Linked DNA regions of Homo sapiens: regions 2, 3, 4, 5 and 6 are each linked to region 1. The links are contacts of gene promoters, found by promoter capture Hi-C in blood cells and fetal thymus (Javierre and others, 2016). All regions are on one chromosome and are shown on one strand. The core of a region is centred on a gene start or on the middle of the fragment in contact, and the rest is flanking DNA. Distances in the headings are between cores, read along the strand shown.

Region 1 (4,468 bases), core at 1,096-3,595:
AGGGACTAAGTGGCTAAGTTGGCTGGACTTCCTGGTTCAATAGGGACTTCCCTAAGGGGACTTTCCCCTAAGCCAAAATGAGTCATAGCTGCAAGCTAAGGGATTGAAACTTCAACCAATCAAAGGGGACTTTCCCCTAAGCCAAAGTGAGTCCCAGCTGCAAATTAAGGGATTGAAACTTCAGCCAATCATATAGAGAGTTTAAGCTCTAGCTGCAGCCTGATGTTTTTAACCAATCAGGCCCACCAACCTAAGAGAGGAGACCACCCCTCATATTGTGTTATGCCCAATTTCTGCCTCCAAAGAAAGAAGAATTTAAAACAAAAAGGCAGAAATGAAATCCACAGGCAGACAGCCCAGCACTGTGCTCTGGGCCTGGTAGTTACAGATTGACCCCTGACCTAACCGATATGTTATCTATAGATTCCAGACATTGTATGGAAAAGCATTGTGAAAATCCCTGTCCTATTCTGTTCTGTTCCGATTACCAGTGCATGCAGCTCCCAGTCACATACCCACTACTTGCTCAATCGATCACGACCCACTCACGCAGACCCTCTTAGAGTTGTATGCCCTTAAAAGGGACAGGAATTGCTCACTCCGGGAGCTCGGTTTTCGAAGATGTGAGTCCGCCAATGCTCCCAGCTGAATAAAGCCCTTTCCTTCCATAACTCGGTGTCTGAGCGGTTCTTGTCTGTGGCTCGTCCGGCTACAAACCCACAAGTGGATAGAAAATAACCTAATCCTATGGGACAGAAAAAGGAAAAGGGGAGGAGTCATAAGGGGATATAAACATAAGATACCCAAACCAGAAATGGCAACCCTTCCAGGTTCCCTTCCACCACGTGGAAGCTTTACTTTCGCTTTCCCTTTACTTTTGCTTTGGCTTTAATAAATCTTGCCACCGCACAGTCTTTGGGTCCACGCATTTCTCTAGTGAAGCTGTAACACTTGCCACTGTGGTCCACGGCTTCATTCCTTGAAGCCTGTGAGACCATGAACCCTTCGATCGAGAAAAACCTTTGATCGGAAGAAGACTTCTCGTCTCAACATTAAAGGACAAAGAAGCCAACTCTAAGGCATGCCATTAGCTTTAATAATCTGAGTGTAATAAATAATAATGATCATAACGGATTAAAACATCAGATCTGTAAAAAATGCATGCATTCATAATGATATCAAACAAACAAAAACTTTGTGGTTAACTCTGGAGTTTGGTAGGGCACCAACTCATGTCTCTGAAATTTCATAATTAAAAAGAACAAATCCAGCATTTACCCAGTCTTTCCTCTATGAGATTATCCTGGTTATCTCAGGATAACCAATGAGTTGGTATGAAAAGATTCCTTTTATAGAAGAACCTCTGGTAATAATAGAGAATTATTGAAAGGATTAGAAATTCACTGCTCTAGGATAAAAGACTTAAGAGACATACCAAAATGCAACATGAGGACTTTTTTTGGATCTTGACTGGAACAAACCAACTATAAAAGATAATTTGGACTCAAACAGGAAAATTGGAATTATTTATAGTACTAAGGAATTATTGTTAATTTTGTTAGATATGATAACGGTAGTTAAATTTTTAAAATCTATGTCAGTTTGAGATGCAGACTAATTTAAGGGTAAAATAATATTATGTCTAGGATTTCTTTAAAAAAGAGGGGAAGGAAACTGAAACTTGATTGGCAAAATGTTGCTAAATGTTGATTCTGAGGGATGGGTTACTTGAGGGTTTGTTATTAAAAGTAGAATCACTTTTGCTTATGTTTAAAATTTTCCATTATAAATAGTTTTCAAAAGCAGAGCCAGTGCCTACCCCACATCATCTTCTGTTATTTAATGCCCAGGACTCAGAAAGGGTCAGCAGTCTCAGATCAACAGTTACTGATGTCCTAACCCATCCTAAACACTGATGCTAATGAGTGTGGGGCAAAGTTCACAGCGTGCTAAGGAGCAACATTTAGGAACCTGACTGGATTCCGCAGCTCTCGGGACAAGCCCCCTGGAAAAGGGCTGGGGGGAGGGGCGGGGAGGCACCCAATTATTCTAGAAGGTTCTGAGATCTCCCAGGGATTTCCGAGAGGCTACGAGGTGTAACTGGCAAATCAATGACTTAAGAGTAGCTTTCTCCCAGCCTCCCCGCTGGCTCTGGAGTATAGAGGGAAGCCAGCCTTTTCCTCCCCCATCCTGCCCCTCCCCTCTCTTCTCATCTTCCCCTCCACTCTCCTCCTGACCCTGGCCTGGCCACTCCTGCTTTCACTTCTCTCCACTCCTCTTCGGCCCCGCCCCGCGGCCTCCTCCCTCCTCCTTGCCCCGCCCCCTATCCCTGCGCGCCGGCGGCCGTTACCATAGCGACGTGCACGCAGTAGCCAGGCCTGACCCGCTGGTCCCTTGCTGGCGGGAGGAAAGAGGCGGCACCATGAGCCACGCAGTAACCATCGAGGAGCCCCAGGCCCAGCCGCAGGTGTCTCAAACTCGGTACCGGGAGAGGTCGCGGGCTGGGAGCCACATCTCCTCCAATCGAGCGTATGATTTTCTGTACGGTAAGGACCGCCGCAGACCTTCCTCCGCGTCCGTCGCCTCCTAGGCCAGGTGGGCTCCCAGATGGTGGGACCTGGCCAGGGGCATGGCGAACGAAACACGACCCTCTGGACTGACCTCTTGCCCACGGTTGTCCTTGGTCGGGTGGGGGCAGCTCCGAGCCCTCCAGGTGGCCGCACTCAGGTTGGGGTCGGGGGTTCGGGTACATCGAAAGGCGCGGGTGCGCTCCGCTTCGGGGGGCGATTTTCCTGAAACCTGTTCCGGGCGTTTTGGTACCCAGAAAGTGTGCAACGATTTGTACACTCGGAGATTCACTCAACGTTCCTGCATAAAATGCCCTACAAAAATGATCTTTTCTCTCCAACTCTCTGGGCAAATCCAAGTTGGGCGAAAAGAAGTGCCAGTTTATCCCATGCTTGTTTTTAGGTTTTTTGTTGTTGTTGTTGTTTGTTTTTTTTAACTTCTGCGTCAAAGCATTGCTTATAGACTGGGTCCGCTGGCTCCTCTTGGGCCAATAAAACCCCAGTTTATTTTAACGGCTTGGTTGTCCATTTTATGTTTTCTCTCTCTCCACGCTCCTTGAGTTCCTTAAGTTCCTGTTCTACACATTTTTGTAGCCTTCTGAGCACCTATTCTAGTGCTGATACATATACTAGGCGCTTCAATAAATAAATGTTTATTGAATTTGCCGTGGCAAGAACTGTAACCAGCTATAAGCATGATTTTTTCCAATTTTGCCCTCTGCAATCCCAGGTTTTTCACCTGAACCTTGCATTGCTTTCAGCAATGTGGTGTTGCCTCTGGGAATCCCAGTCTCCTTTGTGTGGGAATCTAGGGTACACATTCCTAGATAGAGGCTGTGTAATGATTGCTGACATATTCTGGCCAGTGTTTTTCTGTATTTACTCTTGGTTTTGTGAAATAAATCAAGTTAGCTCCTGTAAACACATCACCATGTTTTTTTTTCACGGGTAATTTGAGAAGGAGGACAAACATCTCCCCAAAGTATTTATTAAGCTGGTTGTTTCTTTGATGCCGAAGTGTCTCTTTTGCAGAGGAATTGCTAAATGTTTCCATGTCCCTTGCTAAGAACAGAAATTCACTCAGAGTAGATCAAATAAAAGTTTGGATTGTTATAAAACAATCTCGCCGCTAGTCATGGACAGGAAGCGAAGTATAGCCAGGGCGGATGAGAACCTGGATGGGGAAAATCAGAACTAAGATGCTGTGCTCTCCTGCTTTCTTTCTTTGACCTTATGACCTTTCACCTTGTTAGGGTTGCCACATTTAGCAAATAAAAATACAAGAGGCACCGTTAAGCTTGAATTTCAGATAATGAATAATATTTTAGTATAAATTTTTGTCCTGTGCAATATTTTGGAACACATTTATACTAAAAAATTATTCATTGTGTATCTGAATTTAAATTTAACTGGGCATCCTGTATTTTATCTGGCAACTCTAGCCTTCTTTCTATGTATAATCAAGCCCCAAGTAATGATATTTCGGTCAACAGTGGACTACATGTATAAGGATGGTCCCATAAGATTATAATGAAGTTGAAAAACTCCAATTACTTCGTGACATTGTAGCTGTCATAACATTGTAGCCCAATGCATCACTTTTTCTGTGTTTAGATATACAAATACCATTGTGTTACAACTGTCTACAGTATTCAGTACAATAACATGCTGTATGGGTTTGTAGCCTAGGAGCAATAGGCTATACTATATAGCCTAGGTGTGGAGTAGGCTATACCAGCTAGGTTTATGTTAAGTACCCTCTGATATTTACACAACGATAAGCTCACCTCATAACCCGTTTCTAAGAACGTATCCCCATCATTAAGCAACACATCTCTATGCTTGCTTCCTTCCATCTGACAGAAAGCCTCTTGTGTATGGATTTCTCTTACTATGATAGG
Region 2 (4,468 bases), core at 1,103-3,602, 490 kb after region 1:
TTACCATATGATCCAACCATACTCTTAGGTTTTCACCCAAGAGAAATAAAAGCCTATGTCTAAACAAAGACTTTGTACACGAATGTTCATAGCAGCTTTAATTTTAATCGCCACAACTGGCGATAACCCAAACATCCATCTACAGATAAGCAAATTGTGTCTATGCATTGTAATACTACTCAGCAATAACAAAGAAATAACTATTGATGCACACAACATAGATAAATAACTATAATATTCATAAAAACAATTATGTGAGTAAAATAAGCCAGAGAAAACAGAGTCCATACTGCATGGTTCCATTTATGTAAAACTCTGGAAAATGCAAACTCATCTACAGTGACAGCAAATCAATGATTTTCTGAGGATAGGAACAAGGGATATAAGGATTGGACAGGGGAGGGAGATAACAAAGGGTTGCAAGGAAGCTTTTGAAGATGAGGGATATGTTCATTATGCACCATGTTTCTTGGTTGTATATCCATGTCACAATTTATCAAATCATATGCTTTAAATATGTGCAGTTCACTGCATGTCAGTTATACTTCAGTAAAGCTGTTTAAAAAAGAAATTGGTGTTCTTGAGGGATGAATGCAGTTTTTGTCCTTTTAGGCAATCTTCTTCATAGGTATGGTTGCTCACAGCTGAGCTTTTGGTAAGTATGCACCATGATTCAATAACATTTGCTAAAATAAATTCCCATCATTCCAGAGAAGTAAACACCAACTGAATGATATATTGGGTCTGGGCAGGGCCTATACCCAATGAGGATAATGGTCAGGAATTGAGGTTTGAGCAGTCTCATCAGACAACCTGATAAAATGGGGAAATGTGGTTAAGTTGATGACTGATACCAGGGACATGTCGGTGATCTGGCTGCTACATAACTTAGAGTTGATTCTATCTGCTCTTCCTTGCTCACTGCTTTGGGCACATCCTTCTCAGTACAGAGAACTGCCTTCTACATAGAAAAGAACTGGACTCCAGGGAAGGAAATAACTACTTACTTGCTATAGTTTCTCTGTAATCACTCTTCCTCCCTTCACTTCCAGCTCGCACCTGTGCCAAACAACAGTCTCTGGGTATCTTGTTCTGCCTCACACTGGTGCCAGGTATTGGCCAGCTCACATGTCCCCACAGGGCCTGGGGTACATAGGAACCAGAGCCCACGTTTGAAGCCCTATCTTCAACAGCACTGATCCACAGCCTTCCAGACCTGAGGCCTTATGAGGCTGCATGATTCCAGGGTTTGGAATGAGAAACAGGAACTTTGGATGTCCTGAAAGGGGCTAGGCTCAGTAATGTGCATGAGCTTCTCTAGCTGTTAACCAATGCTGAAGCTACCATCTACAGTCAAGCATTGTGTACTTGCTGCCTACTCACCACTCTCTTGTCCGGGACCCTTTGGGTAAACACCTTGTAGAGTCGCCAGCTCTTTCCCAGAATGGGGCCAAACACAAGGGAGGTCCCAATGCACAGCATGGACAGTCTTGTCTATGGGTGGAAGGGGACAGAAGAGTCACAAGAGGAACCTTTATCAGTTCTCCACACACTCTGATCTGTAGGGTCTGGGTCCCACAGAGCGCACGAGGTACAGAGTGAACCTCACCAAGTGTTCTGGGATTCCCTCGAAAAGTGCCCACTCCAAGGATAAAGGAAACCACCACCCACGGGAGCAGCTGGTTTAAAAAAATAATCAAAACTTTATAGTCAAAACCAAATTTTAAAACTTCACCTACCTGAATGAGAGTTTCCATTGAGCTCCCCACTAAAACATCCTGAATCCCAAAGAGGTAAGCGCTACTGTAAGTGAGACAACTGCCCAGTAAGGTCACAATGTTCAGATTGGGACTGGACATCTTCACAATCCTAGAGGGGATCAGGAAGAAAGACACTTACAGCCATGACCTTTTGCCTTGGGGCCAAAGACCTACGAGACCAAAGCTTCCTCACCAGCATAATCTCCAGTGCAGCCTTGGAGTGAAGGACCACTGGGAAGAAACATCTTTACAGCCCTGTGAAAACTTATAATTTCTTTAAATTTATTTTCACAAAGAACTAAACTCTGGCACTTATTCCTTGTATAACTCCCAAGTCTTTTAAAAGAAGGATGACTACCTACAAACAGGTGGTATTGGAGAAGAGTTGGGATTTTATGCATGAAGTTTATGGTTGCTAGGGGATTGCTATGTGCAGCTTAGTGAATAAATAACCAGCAGGTAGATATCCACAGAGTTTGGAGCCCTTAGAGGTTTTTTTTTTTTCATATACTATTTACTTTATTTGATATGTAAACCATTTTCCTCTACTTTTCCAAGAAAGAAAGAGGATAAAGGGATTAGAAGCAGGAAATTGGGGAAAGGCCTTTTCTCAAGTATTAATAGTTTTAGATGAGATTGGAGACAAATTTGAAAGTTAGAGGGAGATGTAAATAATCAGGGTTTCAGACAAATACCCTGGGCACCAACAGAAGTTCAGGATGTGAACTGGTTAACCTAAGGGCAATGCCAGGCTCACACTGGACAGTGACTGATACTAATTAATTACAAGTAACAAGAAGGAAAGACATTGTATTTAAGAATTGTAATCTAAATAGTGTATATAAATGCAACATTTCTACTAATAGTCATTTGATAATTATACTTTGTTATACTTTTATTTTTAAATCATAACTAAGGAGGAGAGCATTCTTACCTATGTCTCTTGATGACATGGCAGACTGCCTTAAAGGCAGGGCCAAGGCAAAACTATCCACTTAGTGAAGCTTGTTCTAACCACAGGCAAAGCACCTAGGAGGCACTAAACAGTTTGGCAGTGCTGGATTTGCAAGCATCATAACCGCCAGGAGCACGGCTTAGTTACTTTGTGTCTGACATTGTAATACATCCATACACACAAGAACACCAAACCACTGTCCCAGGCCCCAGGTACTGTCAGCATAGGCCAGTGAATCCAGTTGAGCTTAGCCTTGTTTTGGAGGGAAGATTTTTTTCTTTTTCTAAAAGTGAGAGCAACTTTCATGCACACCCTTTTCTAAAATGAGAATAATAATTATGCGATCTACCTTCAAAGAGTTGTAAGGATTTAATAAGGCAATATGGCAAAATGCTTGGCACATGGCCTGGCACATAGTAGGCATGTTGCCAACATCAGCTGCTTATATTATAATCTCACTGTCCACCTCTTCCAGGTTTTAGAAACCTAGGAATCACCTTTTCCTTCTTCTGTTTCTTTATCAGAAACACCCAATCAATTGCCAAGTTTCTTTCATTTCTTCTTCTTTTTTTAATTTTTTTGAGACAGAGTCTTGCTCTGTCACCCAGGCTGAAGTGCAATGGCATGATCTTGGCTCACCACAACCTCTGCCTCCCTGGTTCAAGTGATTCTCCTGCCTCAGCCTCCCGAGTAGCTGGGATTACAGGTGCCCGCCACCATGCCCAGCTAATTTTTGTGTTTTTAGTAGAGACAGGTTTCACCATGTTGGCCAGGCTGGTCTCGCACTCCTGACCTCAAATGATCTGCCTGCCTCGGTCTCCCAAGGTGCTGGGATTACAGGTGTGAGCCACTGTGCCCGGCCTCTTTCACTTCTTATTTCAAAGTCTCTGAGTTTTCTCTCACTCTCCATCCTTTTTTTTTTTTGAGACAGAGTCTCTCTCTGTTGCTCAGGTTGGAGTGTAGTGGTATGATCTTGGCTCACTGCAACCTCTGCCTCCTAGGTTCAAGCAATTCTTCTGCTTCAGCCCCGAGCAGCTGGGATTACAGGTGCCCACCACCACGCCAGGCTGATTTTTGTATTTTTAGTAGAGAGAGGCTTTTGCCATGATGGCCAGGCTGGTCTCAAACTCCTGACCTCAAGTGATCTGCCTGCCTCAGCCTCCCAAATTTCACTCTCCATTTTTTTTTTTTTTTTGAGACAGTGTCTTGTTCTATTGTGCAGGATGGAGTGCAGTGGGGCAATCTCGGCTCACTGCAACCTCCACCTCCTAGGTTCAAGTGATTCTCATGCCTCAGTCTCCCCAGTAGCTGGGTTTACAGGCACGCACCACCACACCCATCTAATTTTTGCATTTTTAGTAGAGATGGGGTTTCACCATGTTGGCCAGGCTGGTCTCGAACTCCTGACCTCAGGTGATCCGCCCACCTCGGCCTCCCACAGTGTTGGGATAACCGGTGTGAGCCACCGCGCTTGGCCTCTCCATTCTTGATACCATGTTTATCCAGGATACAATCATGTTAGGAGCAATGGAACTGGGGTTGAGGGTAACAGGTGGGAACACCAGCTCTGCCACTCACAGCTGACTAAGCCTGTCTGACCAGGAAACAGGCTCCTATTTCCTCATCTGGAAAATGAAAATAACATCATCTTTTGTATCTACCCCACAGGTTATTGCAAAGATGAGATGATGTATGTGCCAAAACTGTTTGCAAACTTTAAGATGATGCAAAAATATTACTTTTTAGATTTTTG
Region 3 (4,468 bases), core at 599-3,098, 470 kb after region 1:
GAGCCAGAGTTGGAGAAGGAGATGTGACAATGGAAACAGGGGCGAGAGAGAGAAAGATTTGAATCTCTTCTGGCAGATTTGAACCTGGCTGGCTTAGAAGGTGGAGGAGGGGACAATAAGCACAAGAATGCAGACGGCCTCTAGAAGCTGAAAAAGACAAGGAAACAGATTCTCCCCTTGCATCTCTGGAGGGAATACAGACTTCCTGACACCTTAAGTTTAGCCAAATAAGACCTATTTCAGATTTCTGACCTCCAAAATTTTAAGATAATAAACTTGTATTATTTTAAGCCACTAAGCTTGTGGGAATTTGTTATAGCAGCAGTGGGAAACTAATATGGTGGGACTAAATGTCAACTCTTTAACAGGGTCCAGCAGGGCCTCAGAAGCTCCCCAGGTGTGTCTCTCCCCAGTCCTGTCATTCTCCCCCTGGTTTCCATTTGTGCTTCAAAAATAACAAAGACCATGGTGCTCCAAACATACGCTACTCTCTTTCTAGCCTCCCTGCCTCTGGTCATGATGTTATTCCATCAGAAATGCCACCTACTTTCCCCCATCTCTTCAATGAACTCTTATGTTTCCTTCAAGACTGAGCTCGAACACCTCATCTTCCTTCCTTCCTTCCTTCCTACCTCCCTCCTTCCCTCCCTCCCTCTCTCCCTTCCTTCCTTCTTTTTTTTTTTTTTTGAGACAGGGTCTTACTCTGTCTGGAGTGCAGTGGCACAATCACAGCTCACTGCAGCCTCAACCTCCTGGGCTCAGGTGATCCTCCTACTTCAGCCTCCTGGGTAGCTGGGACCAGAGGCATGCACCACCATGCCTGGCTAATTTTTGCTTTATATTTTTTGAGACAGTCTCACTCTGTCTCTGGCTGGAGTGCAATGGCACAATCTCGGCTCACTGCAACCCTTGTCTCCCGGTTTAAGCAACTCTCCTGCCTCAGCCTCCCAAGTAGCTGGATTACAGGCGCCCGCCACCACACCCAGCTAATTTTTTGTATTTTTAGTAGAGACGGGGTTTTACCATGTTGGCCAGGCTGGTCTCAAACTCCTGACTTCACGTGATCTGCCCGCCTTGTCCTCCCAAACTGCTGGAATTACAGGCGTGAGCCACCACGTCTAGCCAATTTTTGCATTTTTTGCAGAGACCAGGTTTCACCATGTTGACCAGGTTGCTCTCGAACTCTTGGGCTCAAGCGATCTACCCGCCTCAGCCTTGAAAAGTGCTGGGATTATAAGCATGAGCCACCATGCCCAGCCTCATTTTCTGAGAAGGTGCCACTGAGTTCTCAGATGGGCTGGGGAAGGCCTTTCTCAAAGCTCTTAACACATGTATGATAATTCCTTTCATGTTTGCTCCCCACTAGACCTAGAGGCGGACTCTGTGTTTAAGTGCATGTACCCAGCAGTTAATAAGTGGATGGATGGATGCATGCATGAACAAATGAAGGAAGCTTTCTTTAAAATGCTCACTGGTCTAGTAGGGGTGCTGGGACATATACATATAATTATAAGGCAGATTAGAAAGGCCTGCACATCTTCAGGGAGGAGCAGATGAAATGCTTTCGGGGTTAGAGGAGAGAGAAAACAATGTCCTACCTTAGGACCTGCCTGCCTCTCTGAGGGAGCAGAGGGCTGGGGGATGGGTCATATTCAGGTCAGAACAGCAGCGGCTGGCTGACTTCTAGTGATGACCTCAGTGCTTGGCATAAACACTCAGGCATTTCCTGAGTGCCTGTGTAAAGAAGGCTTCTTGGGCCCCTTGTCTCCTTAGTAATGTCATCCATTTCACCCGCTCTCTGGCGCTGCCTCGCTGCCCTGGGGGTATCTGTGCCTTTGCTTTCACAAACTCCTCCCATCACAGTCATGTCTGAAAGCTCACTGGCAAGAAGGAACCCCGTTTTGCTGCAACCCCCAACCCTTACCCAGATAGTTCCCCTCACCCACTTTCCCAAATTTACTCAAATTACTTTCCCAAATTATCTTCTAGGAATACACAGTGCAAGTATCACAGGGAGAATCGTTCTTCTACCAAAGACCTCGGAGCCAGAGGGAAACACACAGAAACCTAACAAACCTCAGTTTCTTTTATATTTTGAAAAAGAACTACTTACCATCTAAACCTAAAATACAACAGACTACAAAATATATTTTTTAGTTTCACATCATGGTCAGTTAGTTCCAGAGGAGAAAAAAAAAAAACACAAGGGAGAAAATGGAAGAGGAAAGACAGAGTAAGAGAAAGGAAGCTTAAGAAAGCTAGGAGGGAAAGAGGGAGTGAGATAGAAGGAAAGCAAGGCCAGTGCAGTCCATCCACCCAATTCCTGTACCTCATAATCATTCCATTTCCATTCCCAATTCAACAAATCAAGTGTTTGTTGCTTAGTGAAAACCTGGAAGGCAGATTTCAAGCAGCACTTCATTCTGCATTTTTGTGTGTAGAGTACCCAGATGTCACAATTGTCCTAGCTGCTGAGGACTCAAACACCAGGCAAAGGGGAAGTGATGTGGCTGAGGCTTACGATGCAAGGGGGCAGTGGTGAGAGGTGAGGATGGAGAGAGGAGCAGTAAGCAGGGCGCCATCATGGAGATTGCCAATTCATTCAGTTTTCTGACCAAGGCTTTGTTTGTTCAGAAACATTTTCCTCTGATAGCTCTTTGATAATGACTTCTGCCCCAAATTATTTTGTTCTCTTTCAGAGACTCCTATCAGCTCTCAATTGTATTCCTAGATGTTTTCCATATTTTATTTTTTTCTTTTTATTTTATTTTTTGAGACAGATTTTCGCTCTTGTTGCCCAGGCTGGAGTGCAATGGCGTGATCTTGGCTCACTGCAACCTCTGCCTCCTGGGTTCAGGCGATTCTCCTGCCTCAGTCTCCCTAGTAGCTGGGATTACAGATGGATGCCACAACGCCCAGCTAATTTTTGTATTTTTAGTAGAGATGGGGTTTCACCATGTTGGTCAGGCTGGTTTCGAACTCCTGACCTCAGGTGATCCGCTCACATCGGCCTCCCAAAATGCTGGGATTACAGGCATGAGGTACTGCATCTGGCCATTTTCCATATTTTCTTATCTAGTCTCTCATTTGTTTCCTTATTTTCTGTTTCCTTAAAGTAATTCACTAATTCAATATTTTGTAGTGTCTAATTGCCCAGTCAATGCTTCTATTGGGATTTTAAATTTAATACCATATTTTTAATCCTTATTCAATATTTTATTAAGATTAGCTTTTTTTCATGATAGTTTGCTTTAGTTGAGAAGAGACAATATCCTTTGAATTCTATTGACAAGTCCGGTATCTTCTAAACACTTCTACTCCAGAGGAAGGCAGCTTCTCTAAATCTTTAGACATTTGTAGTCCTCTTCTTGTGAACTGCAGATTCCCTTCATAGATCATTTCCTCCAGAATTTATAATCTTACATGGAAAGAGCTGTATCTTCCTAGTATTATAACTATATTCTCTTAGTCTTTTCCTTATGTTCACAAGAGAGCTGCCATAGCTCTAGGAATCACATACATTCAAGGCAGGAAGAAGGTAAAAAGGGTGATGTTAGCCATGCTTATAACCTTTTTCAGGAAAGCAAAAGCTTTCTCAGAAGCTTCTCAGAAAACCTCTAGTGTTCAAAATGGTGTCATATAGGCACTCCTATCTCTATGGGAAGCTGGCAAAAGAAGAGTCTAGCTGTTGCTGTCTCTATAGTGCAGGCAAGCAAGGAAGAAAGGGGTTAGCAGCTCTGTTGCCCAGGCTGGAGGGCAGTGGCGCAATCTCGGCTCACTGCAACCTCTGCCTCCCGGGTTCAAGTGATTTTCCTGCCTCAGCCTCCCGAGTAGCTGGGATTATAGGCGTGCACCACCATGCCCAGCTAATTTTCATATTTTTAGTAGAGACAGAGTTTCACCATGTTGGCCAGGCTGGTCTCGAACTCCTAACCTCAAGTGATACGCCTACCTCAGCCTCACCAAGTGCTGGGATTACAGGTGTGAGCCACTGTGCCTGGCCAGAGTTTACCCTTAAAGGGTACTTATTTCTACAAAAACTCCTCCTTTTCCTCTGCCAGTAATCAGTCAACCAGGCCTCTCCGCCCTGACAGTCAACAGGTAGGCTGCTGTCAGGCAGGGCTTGCTTGTTTATGGAATCAGGACTGCCTTGTACCCTTCAGCACCAGTTCTCTGCATTGTTGATCGCTACCAATCCAACAATATTGGCTGCAGGGCCTAAGGGGTGGGCTTCCCAAAAGGCACCTGCCTACCCTTACCCCTGCCCACCCACCCCGCCCCCGCCCCCGGTCTCCCAGGGAGAAACAGTCCTTGCTTCTCAGAGCCCATTTCTGCCTCATCCCAGACAAACAAGCCTCAGCTCTAAATGGCTTCCTTCATTCCAGTTTTTACGGCATTAAGATTTGGCAAAAATTCCTCCAGTTTCTGGCACAGAGGCAATAGCCATCCATCGTTTCTAGTGCTGCTG
Region 4 (4,468 bases), core at 695-3,194, 420 kb before region 1:
GGGCTCCACCAAGAAAGACTTCTGAGGTTTGACTGCTACCAATTCGATCATTAAAGTAATAGATTACATTGCAGGACTGGGGGCTAGTTCTGTTCCTTAATTATGTTGGCTGTATTCATCTGCTAGGGCTGCCAGTGTCACAAACCAGGTGGTTTAAACAATAGAAATTTATCATCTCACATTTCTGGAGGCTAGAAGTCTGAGATCAAAGTGCCAGCAGGGTTGGTTCCTTTTGAGGGCTATGAGAGAGAATCTGTTCCATGTCTCTTCCCTAGCTTCTGGTGGCTTGCTGGCAACGTCTGACACTCCTTGGCTTGAGGCGTCGCTCCAATCTCTGCCTTCATCTTCACATCTTCACATGTCATTCTCCCTGTGTAAGTAGACAGGGAGGATGTCCACATTTCCCATTTTATAATGACACCGGCCATACTGGATTCGTGACTCACCCTACTCCAGTTTGACTGCATATTAACTAATTAGTAGTACCCATCCTATTTCCAAATAAGGTCATATTCTGAGGTACTAGGGGTTAGGACTTTAACATTTGAAATTGGTGGCACACAGTTCAACTCAAAACATTAGCCATGTTTTCTAAAGCGAAAATCAGAACACATCTTTTGGCACATGGTTTGACTATAGGGCAGAATGTTTGAAATCAGGACTATCTGAGCAATGTGGGTGTATGGGGGAATCCTTTTCAAGAGTAAATCTAGGCAAGTTAATATTATAGAAAATTTTTTAAAACATCCAGGTGGATACCCAATTGAAAAAGTTCTGCTAAATACCTGGCCGGGTACAGTGGCTCATGCTGGTAATCCCAAGACTTTGGGAGGCCAGGACGGGCAGATCACTTGAGGTCAGGAGTTGAGGCCAGTCTGGCCAACATGGTGAAACCCCGTCTCTACTACAAATATAAAAATTAGCCAGGTATGGTGGCACAGGCCTGTGGCCCCAGCTACTTGGGAGGCTGAGGCACGAAAATTGCTTGAACCTGTGAGGTGGACGCTGCAGTGAGTCGAGATCGTGCCACTGCACTCCAGACTGGGTGACAGAGACAGACCCTGTCTCAAAAAAAATTTTTAAATAAGGAAAAGTTCTGCTAAATACCTAGAATTAGAACAGAAACCTGTGGCTGCTTTAAATAATCAGGTTCCACAAAATCAAATTAATGTGAGTTATGCAGATATAGAAATAGATATAGATATATACATACCTACATGCATACATATGCATCTTACTTTGAGAAAGCACATAAGTAAATGAGATCTGTGTGTATTTGACTAGCTTCTTTTAAGATCAAAATGGAGATTAAAATACTTGTGTATTGAAGGTTGAAAAAAGAAGAATATTCTCTGAAATAAATGTTAAGATTCAAGTGTGATTTTGATTACAAAGTGGAACCCCTTCTCCCCACTTCTACCCACCCCCCCACCACAAGCTTGGAAACATATATCCAAAAGGTAGAATGAAAAACAACAGGCCTATATTATCCAACTTACAAATGTTCACAACTTTAGGGGAGCGAATATATATCGAGGGTAATTTGTATGTTTGACCTGTTATAACTCTTGTCTCCAAACTAACTTCTGCATACTGTATTCCCGAGATGGGAATGAAAACAGGTCCTGGGATACCAGAGATGTAAGAAAAGTGTGAGCCACAATCAAAACCATTTCCCAAATAGCCCACAAAAAGCAATGTGCCCTCCGTGTTAGAAAACTGTTTTATGGCCGGATGCGGTGGCTCGGGCATGTAATCCCAGCACTTTGGGAAGCCAAGGCGGGTGGATCACCTGAGGTCAGGAGTTCGAGACCAGCCTGGCCAACATGGTGAAACCCTGCCTGTATTAAAAATACAAAAATTAGCCGGGGGCAGTGGCACGCACCTGTAGTCCCAGCTACTCGGGAGGCTGAAGCAGGAGAATCGCTTGAACCTGGGAGGCGGAGGTTGCAGTGAGCCGAGATCTCACCACTGCACTCCAGCCTGTGTGACAGAGCAAGACTCCGTCAAAAAAAAGAAAGAGAAAAAGAAAGAAAGAAAGAAGGAAGGAAGGAAGGAGAAAGAGAAAGAAAGAGAAAGAAAGAAAGAAAGAAAGAAAGAAAGAAAGAAAGAAAGAAAGAGAAAGAAAGAAAGAAAGAAAGAGAAAGAAAGAAAGAAAGAGAAAGAAAGAAAAACTGTTTTACAAGAAACAGTCTTGCCCTTTCTGAAAAATTTTCCAGGTTCTAAGCACTTATGTGTAAAGGAAATCATCTCAAACTATGTTGGAACTGGGAATGGTAAAAATAAATTAATGACAATAAAATAAACTTAAAGTCTTATAAATATATTTAACATGGGACAAGGGATCAGGATAAGGAAATGTGAAAAAGACATGAATAAACTGGATAATGATGGAGGAAATGGAAGAATCGCTCAGTGAGAAGACAATAAAAATCACTCTCATTTATGTATCAAGCTTCTACCTCGGTATAAACAAAGTGCTAGGCATTTTCATTATCTTATTTAATCCTCACAACAGTCTAACAAGGTAGATATTATCACTCCAATTTAACAGATGGGAAAACTGTGGCTCAGAGGAGTTAAGTCATGTGTCCAACCACTGGGCAAATCAGTGGCAGAGTCAGGCATGGAGCCCAGGTTGGCCTGAGTCCACAGTCTGTGTGCCCAGAGCTGGGGAGGAGCCTCTGGGGACACGAATGTTTACAAGAACCTTTACAGCACCTCCATCTCATGGACAGGACTGAGTAGGAAAACCAGGCCTGTAGGGAGGGCTGAAATGGAAGGGGAAGAGCGTACAGAGGCAGATTACTAGGCATCAAGGCCTAACAACAACTGTGTATTGGGGAAAACAATTTTGTTCAAGAGGGCTATTTATAGGGATGTTTTTCCTCAGTACTCCCTTCCCCCATCTCCTCCCTTTTGTGTTAAGAGGCGCCTGGCAGATTGGTAAAGGGTTACAGGCAGTGGACAGGAAACCATGGAACACAATGAACGGGGCGGGACAGATCCCCACCCACCTAAGAAAATCGCTGGCTCCAGTATTCAGAGACCCTGGGGGGAGACAGACTGAGCTCAGGGTTCTGCTCCTTCCCTGGTTCAGCTAGAAAGAGGCAACGTTCCCAAAGGGGTGCGAAACAGAGCAAGAGGGGGAGCAGGGCAGAATGAGGCAACAAAATATAACAAGATTATTAAAAATAAGTCAAATGGACAGTTCATTCTCTTTCCTGAGGACTGCTGTATTCTGTGAGAGATGAAGGTTTTTCTACCCAAAGACTCTGTCCAGTGTGGGAACTCCAAAGATACAGCACAAGAGGCAAGAGAAATCATCTCAAACCCAGCTGCTGAGAGGGACCCCAGAATCCAATGTGAGGTCCTTGGGACACACCCTGCCAGGCTTCTTCCCTCTGGGCCACTGGACACAAATCTTAACCCAAATGGATCCAGATTCAGACTTAAAGCCTAATGCAAGACGCTGTGCAGATTCAGGCATTGGTATAATAATAATTCCACTCACAGCACTTGGCTCTTTCAGGCCTTGTGAAGTCTCTCGTCCACATGTGACTCTAGGAAGGAAGTGTCCCGCTGCTGTTTGGCAGTGTCTAGTGCCCATGGTGGAGTGGGACAAGGGGGTCTTGTACTGCCTGGTTTGTTCATTTCTGAAACATTGAAGATTGATTTAATGCTACAACTGTGCATATGGGTCAAATGTCATTATGGTTTTTTAAACACTATAGAACACAAAAGATTTCCAAACCTCTATTTTTGAATACTATTCAATACAAAGAAATTAGCGCATAAGTAAAATATTGGTGAGGAAAAACTTATTTCTCAAATAATTTCAAATAATTTATCCTGATGTCTCATCTAATCTCTAGTCCTAACTTCTCAGCTTCTCCTCAGTCTTGCATTTTATACTATCAAAGGACATTTCCTCCTGAAATTTCTGATATGGCCCTTGATGTGTAGAGAAGTATGTATTATCATTCTCCAAAAAAAAAAAAACAGTTTTTACTCTTACCAGTCCCCAGTCTTATAAACCCGGAGAGGTTTTGGACTCTACTGTCTCCTACATCTAGTCTTTTAAATAAATGTCTGAGATTTTGAGTTAGCAGTTAGGGTCCCTGATAAATGCACGGTTACTATAAAAAATAATACTTCATTTATCATCGAGTCTTATTCTTTCTTGCTATTCACTTTACATCACCCTTTCTACCCCAAAATTGGTAGTTGATGGTAAAGTAACTGAATTATGTTCTCAGCTGGGGAAGTGAGGATATAAAGCAGTCTCCCAGTGCTTTTTTTGCCCTAACTAATGCAGCTTTGCAACTCTGGGAACTATAATATTCAATGTAGGGAGAGGAGAGAGAAAGAGATAAAGAAGTTATGTTTAATAATGACTAGATCTGTTCAACTTTTAGGCTGGGAGTGAAGTCATTTAAAGCCCTTCTCTTTCTCCATTCTTATCATG
Region 5 (4,468 bases), core at 1,391-3,890, 400 kb before region 1:
GGCGTCTGCATCTCAGGACTCCACTTCCTTCTAGTGGTTCCTTCAGACCAGCCTTGAGGCCCAGGAACAGGGAGTTAGCTTTCTTCCCATTCAGTGCTTGCTGTGTATTTAAGCCAATGTGACATTTTCATACTTATCCCCAAGCTTCAAGTTATTTTTCTTTTTGACTATGGGTCCATGTCCTACCCAATTTCCTGAGCTGTTTCCCCCTATGCACCAACAGAAATGACACTCTTGAGTTGAACCGATCTTGCTATTTCTCCCCCAAGGGGCTGGCCTCAAGTACTGATTCAGTGAGGGTCACAGCCTGCTGGAACTTCAGGAGTCTAGATAGCACTCTCTGTCTCTCTAGACTTTGCCGCAGTATACAATTTCAACTAAGGCTTCACATTTAAAACCCCTGGGAACAAACAGGCTGACTGTAATTCAGAGGAGAATAAGTATTGGTACTAGATTTTTTTTTGTAAGAGCAGAGTTTGATAGAGAAAGATGAAAACATCAGGCTGCTGAATGGCTGAAGGGAAGAGGAGGAAGAGGAGGTCTCTTGAAGAGAAAGGACTTAGACATGAAGTCTGAGTCCCACATCAGGCCTTGTTGTTATTTTCATTGGTAGTAAGTGCTACTTATCTGTGTTGATTGCTTACTCTGTGCCAGTCACTTTATACATGCAAAGTAATATTTCAGTATCTTTAAGAATTGGGCATTTTAATCCCCATTTTACAAAAGAGAAAACTGAGTGATTTAACCAAGTGATGCCAAGATTATAGAGATGGGAAAGGCAGAATTGAAATCAAGATCTGTATGACTCCTAAGGCCATGGTCTCAGGCATGAACCACATATCTTAGGATAGCATATTTCATAATTTGGCATTAACAGTTTTGCCACAACCTATGAAAAGTGATTTTGCTCCCTTTGCTTTGTTTTTCCCACAGCCTAAACCATGAAGAGTCATAATAACGATGGACATTTGCATAGCACTTTACCCTCTGCAAGGTGCATTTCACACACACGGATCTAAACCTACCAGCTTTGAAGCCCAGCCAGACCCTATCTTTTCCTCCCAGGTCCCTTGCCCACTGCAGCCACATCTTCTTCACCTCTTGGAATACCCACTGCCTTAGGGTCAGGTGTACCCAATTTGTTATGCATTCTACCTGTTGTTTTGTTCTCTAACACTTTATGTATGCAAATCGATGGTGAGTTCCCCCGAAGGCAGATCTGGTAGCTCACTGTGGCTCTCTCAGGGTGAGCCCCATGTGAGACATGCAGCAGTTGATTCATTGACCCTACTTCCTTCTTCAGAAAACCAGTGTTTGTGCCCTTCTAGGAAGCTCAGGATAAGGCACATTGCTGATGTGCTGGATTATCAGGAATCCAATTGCTTAATGGTCCCCACAGGGGTTCATAGCTACTCCCAAATAGAAACTGACCCAGGCTTTGCACAGAACTCCCCAGAAACACTGCCTTTTCCTAGTTCCTCACCAATCACTCCTTGGTGTGAACCACATTCTTGGCAAGGCCCCAGAACCAACTGAGTTTCTGGGATCGAGTCTCAGGCACTCTTTGTTCTCGTTTAAGCTTGGTTGATGCATACCAGGCCCTGGTACCACGCCCATGGCCTGATGCTGGCCCAGAATGCCTTGTAGGCCCCCTTCCCACCACTACTGGAGGGAGAGGGGTGAATGTCACCCCTCCCCTCAAAAGCAACATATACCAGCTCTCGCTGTCATAGACACTAGAAAACAGCTTGACATATAAGCTAGGATTCCGGCAAACCGTACATAAATCTATAGGCTATGTGAAGGCAATTGAGCTAATTTGTGTGATTATGCATATTTCTTTCCCCAGCTCTTTTCATGTTTTTTGTTGTTGTTGTTGTTGTTGTTGTTGAGATGGGGTCTCGCAGTGTCGCCCGGGCTGGAATACAATGGTGCGATCTCGGCTCACTGCAACCTCCACCTCCTGGGTTCAAGCGATTCTCCTGCCTTAGTCTCCCAAGTAACTGGGATTACAGGCACCCACCACCATGCCTGGCTAATTTTTCATATTTTTAATAGAGACACGGTTTCACTATGTTAGCCAGGCTGGTCTCAAACTCCTGACCTCGTGATCCGCCTGCCTCAGCCTCCCAAAGTGCTGGGATTACAGGTGTAAGCCACCGCACCCGGCCTCTTTTCATGTTTTAATCAGATCCTATCTGGAATGGGACTTTCAATTCAATGCAATAAGTATGTAATGGGATTCTAACGTGCCAGACACTGTTGGGTTTACAGAGATGCTCTCAAGTTGCTCCTGACCTAAAGGATTCAAAGAGGGAAAACAACTAAAAGAAGTACAAAGAAGAATGGAATGAGGGCTGTAGAGGATGAGCAAGCAGGGGATGTGCACATGTGAGGCAGCCAAGTGAGAAAGAACCATCAGACAGAGTGGGTTGTTTTCACCAGGGGAAAAATCAGTAAAATTATAAAACAAACATCATCTGACCGAGTTATGACAGCTATGGGAGGATGGGAGGATGGGGTGGTTGGTCTCTAGAGGCAGAAAACCACAGGAATTTGCCTGACACTTGGAATTGGTCACACCCTTCTGCACCCTGGGGAAGAAGGGGCTTAAAATCTGGGAAAGGCAGCTGAGGGTACTTAGAGTGGTGAGGCTGAGACTGGCTGCAGTGACAGAAGCCTGCCTTCAGCTGCAGGGGGAGTGAACCTAACCTCAGGAGAGGGCAAACCAGCTGATAATAACAAGAGTGACCTTTGATTTGGCTTATCTTGGCTTTGTCTATCCCCTGCCCAAGCACAGAAGAATGGAGAATTCTGTTAAAATTAGCTGGGCTTGGTGGTGGGCGCCTGTAATCCCAGCTACTTGGGAGGCTGAGGCGAAAGAATTGCTTGAACCCGGGAGGCACAGGTTTCACTGACCCAAGATGGCGCTACTGCAATCCAGCCTGAGTGACAGAGTGAGACTCTGTCTCAAAATAAAATAAAATAAAATAAAATAAAATAAAATAAAATAAAATAAAACTTTTAAAAAATGGTGCTAACTGACCCTCTGTTTCTTGATTAAATCTATCTGTATGGCATAAATGTCCAACTGCAGAGTCTTCCACTATATGGAAAGTTCTGTTTTGTCCCCATCTTATGAAGAAGGACCAACTCAGAGAGGTTAAGTAACTTGCCTCCTGTCACCCAGCCAGGAAGCGGCAGAAGCAAGACTCCAGCTGTGTCTGTGCAACATTAAATTCTCCTTCCATGGCTTTGTCTGCTCTTGACCCAACGAGACACAGCTATGCTAGCAGTAAAACAGGTCTGATATGCAGAGCTCCATTTTGCCATGCATTGCCAAGGTGATAAGTTCAGTAGGATTTAGTTAGACTTAATAAAACTTCTGGCAATTGAGTTCCCATCCCCAGTTTTTCAAAGTAAAACACTTAGGTTCCAAATGGCAGGATTCTAAACAGAGAGCATGCCCTGTTACCATAAGTAGCCCCTTCCACCACTTCTTTCCCATCTGTTTCCTGCATGCTGGGTATTATTGGGAAACAATGATGTCAACTCTTCCATATAAATCTACACCTCCCTGCCAGCCCCTCCCCTACAATGCATATTTTTGTTCCTCTTTCTGGCTTTTGTCTTGCTGTTCTGCTAAGGACTCATACTTTTGGCGACAATTGTTGGCTTTCTTTTTAACAAGTTTTAGCTATTTAAGCTTTATTGTGGCCTTCAAAGTGCACATGCTTTTTGGGGCCTATATTTGGAAGATCCTTTGTTTGGCTAATAGCTAGAATATGAGCTTGGTGCTAATGGAGAAGAGCCATGTTGCTTTCTGGAAAAGCAAAGCCAAATGCAGGTCTCTGAATCAAGCTCAGAGCTGAGGACAGAAACGCTGCTTGGGTTGGGGGCCCTCTGAGGCTGCATTAAAGCTGTAGCTGCCCTGGACACAGAGCCTATAGCTAAAGGCCAGGAGAATATCCCCTTCAGGTAATCTGTAAACGTCCTGTTTTCCCCCCTCCTAAGCCTGACTTCCAAATGGGGCATGGTTTCCTCAGTTTTCCTTTCTTTAGTAACTCTAAAGACAATTTGGTTTCAGATGGAAAGGAGGGCTAGTTCTCTGGGTACAGTATGAGTTTTAAATTCAGAGTCCGAGAATTCTGGACCTCTCTTGTTAATCCTTGGGCAGCATTTCTCAAACTTTACTGGGCATAAGAAAGACTAAAAATGTAATTCTTGCTTTTAAATTTTAATTTTAAAATTAAATATTAGTCAATTTTAGTATACTACTAGAGATACTCTTCAAATCCAGTTTTGGACTCCTTGAGACAAAATGGACATCTAGTAAAAGTTTTCAAATGGGGCCGGGTGTGGTGGCTCAGGCCTGTAATCATAGCACTTTGGGAGGTTAGGTGGGTGGATCACTTGAGGTCAGGAATTCAAGACCAGCCTGGCCAACATGGTGAAACCCCATCTCTAC
Region 6 (4,468 bases), core at 1,177-3,676, 380 kb before region 1:
AGAGGAATAGGCCCCAAATAAGGGGCTACATGATCATTAGGCATTTTCCAACCCAAAATAAGCATACTCATCCTATTGCTAAGGTAAGATAATAATACTGGTATCAACAACCTTGGGCCAAATGTGAAGATGTTAAATTCATTTTGCACACCTATTCTTCAGGATTAAAAAATATTATCCTGATAAATACAGTAAACCCATTGTAAACAAAACTTTTCATGATGCAGTAACCTTACCCATTACTCCCTTACCTCCTATCTTAAATAATGTTTGAGTGTATTCTTCCCTTTGCCATTAAAAGTTCCATTACTTCTGCCCACAAACCAGCAAGTCCTCACCAATCAAGAATCAGCTGCGATCTCATCATTTTCTTTTTGTGTATTCTAAAACTCAGATGTTTTCTCTCCTCTGGCCTACTGTGGCATGCCCTTCCCTTTCACTAATATCTTGGACATTGATATGGTTTGGCTGTATCCCCACCCAAATCTCATCTTGAATTCCCACGTGTTGTGGGAGGGACCTGGTGGGAGGTAATTGAATCATGGGGCCAGGCCTTTCTCGGGCTGTTCTTGTGATAGTGAGTAAGTCTCACGAGATCTGATGGTTTTGAAAAACGGGAGTCTCCTTGCAAAAGCTCTCTCTTCTCTTGAGTGCCTTTAATCTTCCACCATGACTTGTGGCCTCCCCAGCCATGTGGAACTGCAAGTTCATTAAACCTCTTTCTTTTGTAAATTGCCCAGTCTCCAGTATGTCTTTATCAGCAGTGTGAAAACGAACTAATACAGATGTATAAACATTGACCCATCCTCTTTAACTTCCATATACCCTTTTTAAATTGCAGAAAAATCATTCAATTAGTGGAAAAATTGCTCAAGTAAATTTTATCATCTTTCACCCAGGCCCGGTGATTTCCTATTCAGCAGCAATTTCACATATATATATATACTATATATATATATATAGTATATATATATGTATTATGTATATATAATTATATACTATATATGTAAAATTTTAAAATCAATGTTTTCATACTTTTTAATAATACATGCTTATCCTCATTGTAGATAAATTGGGAAATACATAAATGTTTTAGAAAGAAAAAAATACTTGTATGTAATTCTATCACCCAAAGATGTAACATTTTGGTGGATTTCCTTCAAGTGTTTTTTTTCTATGTACATTTTCATATTGTGATTACACTGTGTGTGTGTATATATATATTATATATATATATGATTTTGTGTCTTGCTTTCTTATAACCGAAGTCTTTATTCAAGTTATAAAACCCTACATATAACATTTTAAGGCTCCGTAGGTTTTGTTTTGTTTTGAGACGGAGACTCGCTCTGTTGCCCAGGCCAGAGTGCAGTGTCACGATCTCAGCTCATTGAAGCCTCTACCTCTCGGGCTCAAGTGATTTTCCTGCTTCAGCCTCCCAAGTAGCTGGAACTATAGGCCCACACCACCACGCCCAGCTAACTTGTTTTTGTATTTTTAGTGGAGACGGGGTTTCGCCATGTTGGCCAGGCTGGTCTTGAACTTCTGACCTCGGGTGATCTGCCCGCCTCAGCCTCCCAAAGTGCTGGGATTACAGGCGTGAGCCACCACGCCCGGCCCATAGTAGTTTATCATATAAATATGCCAGTTTATTCCCTGCCTCCATTACTGGACATTTATAGTTATGATTGTTTTAATTTTATGAACAAGCCCACAGTGAATATTGTGAGGCATATGGCTCTTTTGTTATGTAATATTTCTTTGGAATAAACTCCCAGAAGTAAAATTGCTGGATTAAAAGGTGTGTTATTAGTCAGAACTCTCTTGGTTGTGACTGAAGGAACTCTGACATAAGAAAAAAAGTGGGGGTTAATTACTGATTCATAGAAGCAAACTTTGGCAAAGACAAGAAGGGAGCTGGCTTTAGGGAGCTGGGACCAGAGGCTGGAATTTTAACCTCCTGACTTTCTCCTTGTCTCTTGAATTTATCTTAGACATAAATGAAAATAGAGGTAACTCAAAGCGTCTAACCCACAGTGACAATTGCTGCTCTGTTTTTAGAGCCGGGATTTTGTTCGTGGACTTGCCTTGCCTGGTGGTTGAACTTTGCAGCCCCTTCCTCCTCCGGGCAGCTTCTCTCAGTGGCAGCTGTGTTCCCCATGGTTTGTCCTGGATGTCTCCCTTGTGCCATCCTTGCAAGCCCGCGGCCAGCGCCTCCACCCACGCTCCGGCCTTGCTCCCACTCCCACCGCTCTGCCACCTCCCACCTCAGCCTCCCACCTTGGTGTGGAGGGACCAGCGTCGAAGACAAAGGAATCTCTGACGAGAACCGGCCAGTCCGGGAGGGACGGCGGGGAAGGGGGTGCTGCTCTGGCGGAGCCCTCACTTCACTCGCTTCCCCTCGAGCGCCCCTCTAGGCTGGGGCCCGGCCGCTCTGGGCCTGCTCCTCCTCCCGCTCCTGTTGCGGGGCACCAGGTCAGACCCTACAGGGGGCTCCGCCAGGGGGAGGGGGAGAGGGGCTCCCTTCAAACTCGGCCCGGCCGCGGGGGTCCCGGGTGCCCTCTGCTGGGCTCCTTCCACGTCCTTGTCCCTCCTGAACTCCCGTTCCAGCCCTGCCCCCGCCCCGCAGTAGGGAACGGACTCGTTTCTGCCCCGCCCCGGGGTCCGGGCGCCCGCCCGGCGCTTCAGCTTCAGCAACGTCAAGGCCACGTTCCCTCCGCTCCAGCTCGAAAGACGGTGGCGCTGACTCTGCTCTGCGCGCCGCAGCTTCCTCCCGCTGCTCCGCCCAGCGGTTTCTGATCCCCTTTCGGCGCTGGGGACTCACACGCTGCGGCGACAGGAAAGCCCGCGCCCCCGGCCGCTTCCCGGAACGCCCTCGGGGACGGCTGAGTCACTTGGCGCCCGCCCGCGCGGCCACCGAGCCCAGAAGCGGGGAAAGCCCAGAAGCGGGGAAACCCCAGGGACAGCCGCCGGCCCTGGGGGCAGCCAGCGCTCCAGGCCGCCCAGCACCTCGGGCCCGGATGGGCTTCTCGCGCCCCAGGGCTGCGGCCACACCCCGCCGGCCCAGACCCCGCGGGTAGAGAAAGGAGGTGCAACCCTGAGAGCCAAGACGTTGGGCTTGGCTTTGCTTTGCGTTTCTTTCCTTTTTTCTTTTGTTTCTTTTCTTCTTCTTTTTTTTTTAACCACATCCAGGAAGAGGAGAAACCTGTCTCATGACAGGAAACGAAGAGGGAGGATGCATCCGAACTGAGGGACATTGTTTCAGTTGCCTCACCTGACATACTGTCTCACCTGAGAGAGGGAGGCCGAAGAGGCAGCCAATGGTGGCTGGAGCAAGCCCTGTCCTCGTTACCTGGGCTGTGGCTGAGCCCTGGGGCTCACCGGCTGTATGGCCCTGGGCAAGTCCTCGGAGCCTTAGGTTCTCTGCAAAATGGAGATGATGTTTAATAGAAAATGTTTCTATAACTTTTGTGGCTTACTTTTTGAAAAGCGAGGGAGGGACTTTTGTCCTTCCCTCCTCGCATCTCAGTCGCAGTGCTGGTTCACAATCAGGCTGTTAACGCGGTTTCCACATTTCCTGTCCTCCCCCTTCCCCTTTCCTGCTGGGAATAAGAAGGTGGGCCCCCAAGGAGACAGAGGGTACACTCGTAAATGAAAAAGAAAAGTCAGCACAAGGACCCTTTGCTGCGGAGATTTCTTTTTCCAGGTATCCTAAGTGGGGCTCTTGCCATCCCTGCCATCCCTGCTCTACACCGAAGGGGTGAAGTCCTGGGACTCTGTTATGCCCATCTGTATGTAATCCTAGGCAAGATTATTACAGTAGCGCTTTCCTCTTTTTAGAATATACCCTTGTCTAGCCCCTACCCCATCTTCAGGACAGTAAAGGTTCTCAACTCACTTCAAACCCTCCTAGCCGTCTAGAACAGTGGCTCACAACCGCAGACCCATAGGAAATGTAGGGCCATCTATGTAATAAATTTATCCGGATGTATTATAACAATTTTAAGGTTACACTTGTCCTTTCTTGAACAGGACAATTCTTTATTCTAAGACTATATGCTTCATAGTTTTAGTTATTTTGAATTGTCCATTCTGTTATGAAATACGATAGTTATTGTTGGTTGATGTCCTCTCTCAGAAAAATAAAAAATTAGCAGTCCTAGGTAGATCCCCCAAAATCTTTTAAACTTGATCTGTGAAATCCAAAAAGCTTGGGTACCATTGCTGTATTCCACATGTGGTTCACATCAAGGTTCCTTGTCCCTCCCAAGGAGATTTGTAGCTATTAAAAGAAACAAACAAACAAACATAAACAACAAAAACCCTTTCGAGAATCAGATCCTCAAAGAATGTTTAAGGATAGACGTGGAAAAACAAAGAGTGGGGAGAGGAGTCTTTCTCTACTCTCAACCCCTAGCCCTTAGTGTAGGTGAAGGCAGCACAGTTGTATCTATTCTAACTGGTATTT

What was found. The method cuts DNA at HindIII sites, captures the fragments that hold promoters and counts their contacts. A CHiCAGO score of 5 or more calls a contact.
Region 2: a fragment that was not itself captured here is called in contact with the fragment with the promoter of CFAP91 in region 1 in 1 of 17 cell types (endothelial precursors); the score reaches 7.5 in endothelial precursors.
Region 3: a fragment that was not itself captured here is called in contact with the fragment with the promoter of CFAP91 in region 1 in 2 of 17 cell types (neutrophils and endothelial precursors); the score reaches 6.4 in neutrophils.
Region 4: a contact is called between a fragment that was not itself captured here and the fragment with the promoter of CFAP91 in region 1, in 1 of 17 cell types (erythroblasts). The highest score is 5.7, in erythroblasts.
Region 5: a fragment that was not itself captured here is called in contact with the fragment with the promoter of CFAP91 in region 1 in 1 of 17 cell types (monocytes); the score reaches 5.3 in monocytes.
Region 6: a contact is called between the fragment with the promoter of ARHGAP31-AS1 here and the fragment with the promoter of CFAP91 in region 1, in 1 of 17 cell types (monocytes). The highest score is 6.1, in monocytes.

Annotation. Positions count from the first base shown.
Region 1 is chr3:119,700,677-119,705,144 of GRCh38, forward strand. It overlaps CFAP91 (cilia and flagella associated protein 91), which reads left to right and starts at 2,346. Exons shown (of 18, transcript NM_033364.4): 1 at 2,346-2,546. The coding sequence starts at 2,423. LOC105374064 (a long non-coding RNA gene) reads right to left here and starts at 2,367. Exons shown (of 3, transcript XR_924391.4): 1 at 1,820-2,367; 2 at 516-745. RefSeq lists enhancers at 1-246, 1-1,165, 1,832-2,511, 2,505-2,554, 2,605-2,664 and a silencer at 2,225-2,394. The HindIII fragment of the contact is 3,012 bases long and covers 851-3,862 here.
Region 2 is chr3:120,191,556-120,196,023 of GRCh38, forward strand. It overlaps GPR156 (G protein-coupled receptor 156), which reads right to left. Exons shown (of 10, transcript NM_153002.3): 4 at 1,740-1,869; 5 at 1,384-1,494. Among named protein-coding and RNA genes, the nearest start is that of GPR156, 91 kb to the right of the region's middle. The HindIII fragment of the contact is 820 bases long and covers 1,943-2,762 here.
Region 3 is chr3:120,175,612-120,180,079 of GRCh38, forward strand. The region is part of intron 8 of GPR156 (G protein-coupled receptor 156); the gene reads right to left. All of the region lies in intron 1 of LOC105374065 (a long non-coding RNA gene), which reads left to right. Among named protein-coding and RNA genes, the nearest start is that of GSK3B-DT, 83 kb to the left of the region's middle. The HindIII fragment of the contact is 795 bases long and covers 1,452-2,246 here.
Region 4 is chr3:119,276,515-119,280,982 of GRCh38, forward strand. All of the region lies in intron 3 of B4GALT4-AS1 (B4GALT4 antisense RNA 1), which reads left to right. Among named protein-coding and RNA genes, the nearest start is that of ARHGAP31, 16 kb to the right of the region's middle. The HindIII fragment of the contact is 1,017 bases long and covers 1,437-2,453 here.
Region 5 is chr3:119,301,923-119,306,390 of GRCh38, forward strand. The region is part of intron 1 of ARHGAP31 (Rho GTPase activating protein 31); the gene reads left to right. Among named protein-coding and RNA genes, the nearest start is that of ARHGAP31, 9.8 kb to the left of the region's middle. RefSeq lists an enhancer at 991-1,210 and a silencer at 3,400-3,694. The HindIII fragment of the contact is 2,127 bases long and covers 1,578-3,704 here.
Region 6 is chr3:119,320,334-119,324,801 of GRCh38, forward strand. It overlaps ARHGAP31-AS1 (ARHGAP31 antisense RNA 1), which reads right to left and starts at 2,427. Exons shown (of 2, transcript NR_046748.1): 1 at 2,281-2,427. The region is part of intron 1 of ARHGAP31 (Rho GTPase activating protein 31); the gene reads left to right. RefSeq lists enhancers at 2,098-2,955, 2,956-3,812 and silencers at 2,375-2,734, 2,785-3,134. The HindIII fragment of the contact is 4,466 bases long and covers 1-4,208 here.